Linked DNA regions of Homo sapiens: region 2 is linked to region 1. The links are contacts of gene promoters, found by promoter capture Hi-C in blood cells and fetal thymus (Javierre and others, 2016). All regions are on one chromosome and are shown on one strand. Each heading gives the region's core, a stretch centred on a gene start or on the middle of the fragment in contact. The rest is flanking DNA. Distances are from core to core; before and after follow the strand shown.

What was found. Contacts are between HindIII fragments. The CHiCAGO score rates a contact against its expected background, and 5 or more counts as called.
Region 2: a fragment that was not itself captured here is called in contact with the fragment with the promoter of HEMK2 in region 1 in 2 of 17 cell types (non-activated CD4 T cells and activated CD4 T cells); the score reaches 6.6 in non-activated CD4 T cells.

Annotation. Positions count from the first base shown.
Region 1 is chr21:28,882,491-28,887,502 of GRCh38, reverse strand. It overlaps HEMK2 (HemK methyltransferase 2, ETF1 glutamine and histone H4 lysine), which reads left to right and starts at 2,136. Exons shown (of 6, transcript NM_013240.6): 1 at 2,136-2,291; 2 at 4,432-4,518. The coding sequence starts at 2,158. It also overlaps the pseudogene HSPD1P7. RefSeq lists enhancers at 1,719-2,277, 2,223-2,282, 2,278-2,837. The HindIII fragment of the contact is 10,284 bases long and covers 1,761-5,012 here.
Region 2 is chr21:29,293,355-29,298,283 of GRCh38, reverse strand. It overlaps LOC105369299 (a long non-coding RNA gene), which reads left to right. Exons shown (of 2, transcript XR_937652.3): 1 at 1-1,678; 2 at 1,942-2,106. Among named protein-coding and RNA genes, the nearest start is that of BACH1, 3.1 kb to the left of the region's middle. The HindIII fragment of the contact is 1,657 bases long and covers 1,556-3,212 here.

The DNA.
Region 1 (5,012 bases), core at 887-3,386:
GAGAAGCTGGTTGTGATGCCACGGTCAGATTTTGTGAATATGGTGGAAAAAAGGAATTATTGACAAAACAAAGGTTGTGAGAAGTGCTTTACTGGATGCTGCTGGGGTGGCCTGTTAACTACAGCAGAAGTTGTAGTCAAAGAAATTCCTAAAAAAAGAGAAGGACCCTGTATTGGGTGCAATGGGTGGAACGGGAGGTGTTATGGGAAATGGCAAGTTCTAATGATTAGAATAGCGTTTTACTTTAATTAATGAACTGTGGCAGGAAGCCCAAGGCAGTATTCCTCACCAATAACTTCAGAGAAGTCAGCTGGAGAAAACGACTGAAGAAAAGGCTAGCAGATGTTTAGGAAATCACTATAACAATCAGTTACTGGTTTCAAGTGACAAAATATATAATGTTTTACTGCTGTCACTGTCCATGCCTACAGATAATTTATTTTGTATTTTTGGATAAAAAGACATTTGTATATTCCTAATACTGGGTGCGAGAGCACCTATGGTTCCAGTTCCAGCTACTCAGGAGGCTGAGGGAGGAGGATCGCTTGAACCCAGGAGATCAAGTACAACTCTTTCTATATATATATATTTTTCATATTTTTACATAATAAAATTCTATATGGCAGTTAAGAGGAGTAACCTAACCATATATCAAAACATAAATCTCATATAATGTTGACTGAAAAAGAAATTTGAAAAATATGTCCAACCTAGTACCAGTTATGTAAATTTTAAAATACACCGTATGTTGCTTATAAAGATATGAATGTTTATAAACGTATAAATACAAGATCCATGTTTTTACATGGATTAGATGGACATACACTAAATCCATAAGAGCCTTGGAGAGAATGTTACACAATTAAACTGAAGGCAAATAGAGAAAGAACATCCATCTTATTTGTAATATTTTAGTTCTTGTATTTAAAAAATATTTTAAGGAAACATGAGAAAATACTGTCATTTCTGGGTTTAAAACTTGGGGTTTTGAAATTTGTAACCCAGCCGGGTGCGTTAAAGGCTCACACCTGTAATCTCAGCACTTTGAGAGCCCAAGGCGGGTGGATCACCTGAAGTCAGCAGTTTGAGACCAGCCTGGCCAACATGGGGAAAATCCGTCTCTACTAAAAATACAAAAATTAGGCAGCCGTGGCTGCAGGCGCCTGTAATCCCAGCTACTCCGGAGGCTGAGGCAGGAGAACCGCTTGAACCTGGGAGGCAGAGGTTGCAGTGAGCCTAGCTCGCGCCACTGCACTCCAGCCTGGGGGATACAGCGAGACTCTGTCTCCAAAAAAAAAAAATACATAAGTAGAAATAAAATAAAATAAAATTTGTACCTCAAATACTTTTCTGTATTTTTATTTCTCAAATTTAAAAAACGAGCTGTAAAAATGTTTCATTGCGAAACAAATTTCAGAAATTGACTCAAAAAGAATGCAAATACTTGAATAGTCTAATAACTTACAGATGTTCCAAAACATCAAAGATCCATTCACTCAAAAAGGCACCAAGCCCAGCCAGTTTTAAGGCTTTCTACCTAATGTTCCAGAAACAGTGTCCTAACTCACATAACGAGGGTAGCGTAATCTTGGTAAAAAAAAACGGAGCCAGATTATTAGCCTCCCCAATTCAGCAGTGTATTAAACCGCATCATCTTGCTTAAGGTTTATAAAAAGAGTGCATTCATGATTCATCAGGAAGGCAATTTATAAAGTACAGTAAAAAAACGAGGAAAGTCTTCATCTTTATAGCGTAAAGCTTAAAGTTCAGCTGACAAAAAAACAGTAAAATTTATTATGTATTTTTTCAAATCCTTGCAAACTAGGAATAAAACAGAATTTCCAAATATCATTAGAATGAAGAAAGAACATTCACCTTAGTCAAAAACAACTCAGAATGCCCACTATCAGGTTCTAGTTCACAGAATAAAATTTAAATGTTCCAAAGAAGAAAGCAAATGTCAATAGTCACGGATTATACAACTGTCTACTTAGCAATTTCAAGGAGAGCCACTGACAAATTTAGAATTAAGACCCAACAACAACACACTGGTCGCCCGGGACGCCAGCCCCACTCCTAGGCCTGCGCATGAGGGTGAGGGCATGCGCATGCGCATGCGCACGCCCTGCGCACGCGCATGGAACGCAGCGAAGGACTATGGCAGGGGAGAACTTCGCTACGCCGTTCCACGGGCACGTGGGCCGCGGCGCCTTCAGCGACGTGTACGAGCCCGCGGAGGACACGTTTCTGCTTTTGGACGCGCTGGAGGCAGCGGCTGCCGAACTGGCAGGGTGCGAGGAGGGGAGGGGCTCTGACGGGAAAGGGTTGCGGCTTTCTGAAGAAGTGCGGTGGAGGAGGGCCGGAACGGTGACTATCACCGCCCTGAGCCGGAGCAGGCGGGGTCCACTTGCAGATGATTGACAGCCAGGACGCCGTAATTGAGAATTTTCCTGTAGCTACAAGTAATGAGTGTGCCGGGGACGCATCTCCTTTGCCAGGGGGCTGCTCTGTCTCATGAGCTCCCTGACTGCTTACCATGCAAAGGCGTATCTTTTCCTGTCGCCTGTTAATCTGAAGAACACATGTCCCTGAGAGAAGCGATAGTATAACACGTTTGGAAACAAAATATTCCGGAAACATTGCTTATTAATATTTTTAAAGTATTACATATTAAAATTGCATGGTATTATTTGATTTACTCAGCACATAGAAAGCACCCTTAACAAACATGAAAGAAAGTTGTGTTACTGGAGTGGGGAAATATTTTTAAACCCACTGAATAGCATACTCTAGCACCAGCCAGTCCTCACATGTGGCTACAGAGCGCTTGAAATGTGGCTAGTGCTATTGAGGAACTGAATTTTTCATTTAATTGTTACCAAAAAAAAGTTACATGCAGCTAGCAGACAATAGTCTACCCTAGCACTTTATTTAAATGGATTTATTGAAGTGATCGCCATCAATTTTAAATTAATAGCAGAAGGAATGAATACTGACATTGTGATTTTTAAATGTAAGGAATTTGGGTTGTTAGATTTGTTTGAAGATAAGATGAACTGGGTTTTCTCAGGATGGAACAAACAGCTTTCAGGTTTCAAAGATCTATATTGTATTTATTTATCCCTCTTAAACTTGGTCATATTTCTCCAGTATAAAATGTCCCAGCTCTTATTAAACTAGTCTTTCATTGTAGATGATGGAACTTTTGGATCTACTGGAATATACAGTGGAACAGTACTGTTTTATAACTTGTCTTTTCTTCTCAAGATAGCCCAGAAAGATTTACAAGCACAAATTGCACTGCAAAGTATGCTGTAAAAGGAGCTGATTTTGTTATAAAGTCTTGGGTTATTTCTAGTTTGGAATTCTAATTATTTATGAGACCATGATAGTTATTTTCAAAGAGAAGCCACCTGGTGAGATTCTCAGACCTTACTACCACCTAATAAAGACTTGTCAGATGTGTAGACTGGTTCCAAAAGTTTAAAACCTCTGGAGCTTGTCACTGGGTAGTTGTTTTGGGAGTTCAGTGCTAAAAATTTCCCTAAATGCCATCAAGCTGATCTTTTTAATGGGGATGATTTATGCTTTTGATGCATGTATAACATTATAGAGGGCTGGCACTGTGGTTCGTGCCTATAGTCCTAACTACTTGGGAGGCTGAGGTGGGAGGATCACTTGAGCAAGCCCAGGAGTTAAAGGCAGCAGTGAGCTGTGATGGCACCACTGCACTCTAGCCTAGGTGACAGAGCAAGAGCCTGTCTCTAAAAAAGAAGCAACTTCCAAGATTATAGGCAAGAAAATAAATTTAATGGAAAGATAAAGTACAGTAGAATGAAGATTTTATAGTTAACAGCATTCTAAGATGGTTAACATTCAAAGATCAGATACTATTTTCCCAATTAGCATATAGCTGTCCAGAAAAAGAATTTTTGTCCTGCTCTATTATTGGGGGACCTTTTAATTCTCTAGGATATACTGATGGCTCTATGAATGTTAGGTATTAAAAATGATAGAGGAACTTTTTTCAAAAATAAATTTTGTAATAATACAAACTTTATTTTAGGAAATACTAAGCTAGGAGCTCCTTGTGCGAAGGAATGATGTCTTTCACATTAATATTTCCAACCCTAGATTAACATTTTTCCATACTTTTTAATGTAATGGTTTGTTGAAATTAACTGAAAGCCATGTTTGGTAATAGATAACTTTTATGGACTTATATTACGTACCCAAAATATTAGTAATTTTGAGTTATGCAATATTAAGTACAAAGTAGTTGTCAGAAATTATAAATTTCTATTTTCATATATTTGCAGGTGAGTGATGATGCTAGAGAAATATATATGCTAGAAATAACACTAGCATGAGAGTTTTCTGTGAAGAGTATTTTGATTCTACTATACTAATATTTATTTATTTTTTTTTCAGAGTGGAAATATGCCTGGAAGTAGGGTCAGGGTCTGGTGTAGTATCTGCATTCCTAGCCTCTATGATAGGCCCTCAGGCTTTGTACATGTAAGTATATCATATTCATCTAGATCTTCCACTGACAGGTTAACTATGATAACTCTAATGAAATAATTTTTAAAGAGACAGTATGTATCTTATAGTATTTAAGCATAGCAAAAACTCAGATTACAAACTATGCTTCCCTAAAAATTATTCATGTTCAAACTGCTCCATCATACTACGTAATTGTAGAAGCAGCATAATTTTAGATCATCTCTAAATTTGATTTCTTAGCTAAGTAATTTGATATCATAAGACATTTAAAGTTGCTTAAATTTATAGAAGATTGGGAATGTAGAAAAGTATAAAGAAGAAAATTAAAATCACCTATAAATTTTACCATACATGGTCCAACTGTGTTTCCTTCTGTTTTTTTTCATTTCCTGTGTTTTTAATTTAATTTCGTCTCATAAACATTTTCCTATCAAAAATTCCTTTTAAATTTCATTTTTGGTGGCTGCATAGTACTCCTTCATTGGATGTATAATTCATAAATTCCT
Region 2 (4,929 bases), core at 1,135-3,634, 410 kb before region 1:
CGTCTAGCAGTTGCTCTACTTCTTACTGACAGTGAAACAAGGGCGCCCACGACAGGTGTTCCCTTTTCGCTGTCGCTGCCAGGAAGCTTCCAGCCAGGTTCAGCGCCCAGTGGTGTCAGCCGGCCCATCTCGAGCCTTGGTTCCGCTGTCATCTTCTGGTGCTTATTCTGGTGTTTATCCAACTGTCCGTTTTGAAATTATGTTCCCAAGCCATTTAACACCTCTGGAGAACCAAAGCACTGGCTGTCAGCGGAGCGGGATGCACGCGCAGCGGAGGGGACTGGGCACGCCAACCCCACGAGGGTTCCTGCGGAGATGACACGGACCTTGAGGTCTGAAGCCAAAGGACGATTTGTGTGAAGGGATTTTATTGTTAGCTTTGGAGCCAGCAACAAGAACACAGCCCTGGAGTTCCCGGGGCAAAAAGGATACCAAGATAATAATTCAGGTATTACGACTAACATGACTGCATTTGCACCCACAGGCTGTGGGACTTGGGGACGTTTGAGCTACATCCAAAATACATGAGAAAATCACACAAGTGAAATTGGATGAGAGTGCGAGGGGTGAAGTGATACATTATGACCTAGAATTAGGGGAGGCTTCCTGGAGCAGGTGACATTTGCATTGGGTCTTGATTGGGAAGAGTGGAACCCAGCAGTCTAGATAGGGTCCAGAGGTAGGAGGTACCTCGCATCCCAGGCTGCCTCAGTTCATGGTGAGAGTGCAGATATTTAGTGAAACAGGAGGAAAGGACACTTGGAAATACACCATGAAAGAAGGATTGAAGTTCTTGCAGACACATGGGAGTGTCCGAGGCTTTATTCTCCTTCCACCTTGAGCCAGTGGAATTGCAGTGTCTTTTTTCTACACCTATGCAGTTTTTTCTACACCTGTGCAGTTTTTTCTAGGGGAAGATCAGACCCTCCTCTTTGGGAGGAACTCTTGCTTCTTTAGATAATAGCAGTGACATTTTCTAGCCTGAAAATTATGATGTATGCCCTGATAGGTTTAATTATTTGAGAAGTTCTCACAAAGGTATACAGATGTGCTAAGAGTATCAAGTCAAGTGAGTGACTCTCAAGCTTCATTATGGGGAAGAATATTTGGTTTGCTTGTTAAAATGCAGATTCCGGCCGGGAGCAGTGGCTCATGCCTGTAATCCCAGCACTTTCAAAGGCCAAGGCGGGCGGATCACGAGGTCAGGAGATCGACATGGTGAAACCCCGTTTCTACTAAACCCCAACATGGTGAAACCCCGTTTCTACTAAAATACAAAAAATTAGCCAGGCATGATGGTGTGCGCCTGTAGTCCCAGCCGCTCAGGAGGCTGACACAGGGGAATCGCTTGAACCTGGGCGGTGGAGGTTGCAGTGAGCTGAGATCGCGCCACTGCACTCCAGCCTGGCGACAGAGCAAAACTCTATCTCAAAAAAAAAAAAAAAAAAAAAAATGCAGATTCCTGGGTCCCACCCCCAAAAGATGCTAATTTTGTAGATCTGAGTAGGACCTAAGGGTCTGCATTTTTAATACTGAAGCATGTGGTCTTCAAGCTTATGGCATGTAGTAGGGACAGGACGAAAAATGAAACTGGAGAATGAAATGAAACCGAGTCAGTATGAGAAGGGCCTCATGCACAGCACCTGGAGTTTGGACTTCATCCCGTGGTCTGCAATAAGTGAGTAGAGGTTTCTAAGTCATGTGGTTATTTTTAAAAGCTAATTCTAGTATTGAGAAGGAATGGGAGTGGAAACAGATAGTAGGTTGAATGAAGGAATGAATGCAGTAAAATGCTCAGTGAAAGATGTGGCACTTTTTGTTTTCAGTATTCTCTTGCTTTGAACCAAAACCACTTAGAATGTATTTCTTTTAAAACCTGTATGTCAGTGTAAATATTCACAAACAACTGTATGTTCTGACCTATGTCTTCTGGACTTCCAGAGTTAGCATTAACATTATTAGCTGCCAGGCCAACAAAACCTTGAGTAATCCTGCAATACTCGGAATCAAGAAAAGTGGCTACATCATGGTCAACTTTGAAGAACATCAGCCTCAAGATCTTTTATACTAACTCATATGTTTATTAAAATCTATTACTAAAACAGATTTTTAAAAATTATCTTGAGGTTATAATGAGACATAGTGCTTCTACCTAATTCCTATTGGGAAAAAAAAATGTTGAGATTTGGGGACCAAGAAAAAAAATTCTGATCGCTTTTTTTTTTTTTTTTTTTGAGATGGTGTCTCTCTCTGTCACGCAGGCTTGGAGTGCAGTGGCATGATTTTGTCTCACTGCAACCTCTGCCTCCCGGGTTCAAGTGATTCTCCTGCCCCAGCCTCCTGAGTAGCTGGAATTTCAGGCACCCACCACCAAGCCCAGCTAATTTTTGTATTTTTAGTAGAGACAAGGTTTCACCATGTTGGCCAGGCTGATCTCAAACTCCTGACCTCAAATGATCCACCTGCCTTGGCCTCCCAGAGTGCTGGGACTACAGGCATGAGCCACCGCTCCCAGCTGATTGCTTTCAATTAGTATTGATAATAGTTTGAAACTGGGACAAGTAGCCTAGTCTTGGCAGTCTTTCTGCTCCTTAGCTCAGCTAGGTCCAAGTTCTTGTCTCACAACCAGGAAAAACTAGGCACACAGACACCGGAAAGTGAGTGGAGTGGAATTGATTAAGCAAAAGGAAAGCTCTCAGCAAAGAGCGAATGCTGGGAGCAGTTCCCCTACCCGAAAGTGGGAAAATCCCCTCTCATGTGGCTGAGCCTGGGGCTTTTATGCACTCAGAATGGGGAGTGCATGCTGATTGGTTTGTGAGTTTGCAAAAAAAGGTTAAAGCAAAGACACCACTCAAAGGCAGGCACGACAGTGTAGAAAACCAATTAGAAAGGGTAAGTATACGTAAAATAGGTGAAGGGTGGAGATCAGAGGAAAGCGTGCCAAACAGGAAGACAAGTTCTCAATCTAGTCTGAAAATTTAACTTGTAGTTTGGCTTTCAGGCTTTAAACTGTCTTCAGCTTGGAGGTGGGGTTTCACCGGGGACCTGCCTCTATCTGCCTAGGCGTTTGACTGTCTTCTGTTGCTGTCACTAGTAGCACAATATAAAGATTTTGTGCTACTGTTTCACAGTGATTTGCAATTAGTGCTTTTTTTTGTCATGTAGTTTTGTTTTTAGTGCATTATTCTTTAGGAGAATTTATCCGTGAAGCTTGGGTATCACAGCTTACTGCTATGTCCTTGATTTATACTTCTCATTGACTGTGAGAAGTGATGGCTAGTTTTCCTGCTGTGAGCAGGTTTGGTGATATACAATACCATTCGCAAGATGTTATATATGTGCATTGTCACATTTCTTTCAAAAATGATATTTCCAATTTTTCCAAACATTCATATCTTCTTTCTGGCCATCATACTGATTTTATTACCAAAATAAAATCTTATCATTAACTCTGAAAACAATTTAAATAACTATAAGCCATAGTTAGGGAATGATTTTTAATAAAACCTAGATACAAACACCATCATTTTCTCCTCTAATAGCAGGTTGTCTTGCCTGACTCTCAAAAATGAGGGAGCTAAATCATACAGATAGGTGACATGTTCATGGCTATAAGGAACACCATAGCATAATATTTGGACAGTAAGACATAATACATATCCTGAAAAAACTTTGATGTGTAGTCAGTGTAACCCTTGTCCCCTGTCCTCCTCCCTAACCTCAGGAAAGATCCACACTTCCACATTTATTCCCTACCCACCTTTGGTTTTGAATCCTCATTTCCACAGATGCAGCATGACATCTGTAACCCCTACAAATCTGCATACCCCTCCAGCCTTCCCAGAACTTCATTCCCTCCATCTTCATTGCCTTAGCTCCTTTTGTCTTTAAGTATTCACTCACTAAGTCAAGAAAATATTGGAGGGGGGGTGGGGCAAAACAACTAGGCTTTAAAGGTGGGGGATTACCCAGATCAACACAAGTCTCCCACTTGAACAACTGCTCTTTGACACCTGTACCCTGAGATGTGACTATGGATTAAAGTCATAGCACCCCTGCCTCCAGGTTGGAAAGTTTTATGGAAAATGAACATATTTTATTAGAAGACAATGAGAACTTCCTGGAGCAGATGAGTAAACACACCCTCATGTTTACCTGATAACTGAAATCAAAGATGAGGTGTAGCCTCTGGTTTGAAATGTTACAAAGTGTAAAATTAAGATAAAGGCAGAAAAATGAAAAGGAAATAGCCAGTTTTGAAGCAGAAGAACTCAGTGGGACAGGGGCCAAATCAGTGAAAGAGGTGCTGCTCAGATACCAGATTTAATGACAACCAAAGTGGCCCAAATATCCAAAAAAAATTGCGCTTCTGAAAACCAGTAGGAGGTTGCAGTGGACTAAAGATGGCCACAAAATTTTTATCGTTTTCCCCGTCAAGAATGGGAGTTTATTTTTCATCATCTTGAATCTGGCCCTGTGACTGCATCACCAAGAAGACACTGCAGAAGTGATGCTCTGCCAGTTCTGGTTCTAGTCTTTTAGAAGACTGTTAGCCTCTACTTCCTCTTTCTTCAAATGAGCTCTCTTGGGACACCCTCTCTCAGAACCAAACCACCATGCATGGGGCATGTGTGGCCTCTTCACTCAGGAGCCCCAGCAGAGCAACCAGCCAGTACTGAGCATCAAGTGCCAGTCATGTGAATGAGCCATCTAGGATGTTCTTTGGTCAAGTCTATACAAAAGAACTTACCAGCTGAGCCCAGCCAACACATAGAATTATGAAATAGTAAAATGATTATTGTTTAAAGTCATGAAATTTTGCAGTTTTTTTAATATAGCAATAGATAACCAAAATCAAGATTAAATAAAATATCAGATGATTAAAATGGAGCATGAAAATGGAGTTAACTTTGTAAGAAGAACCACAAC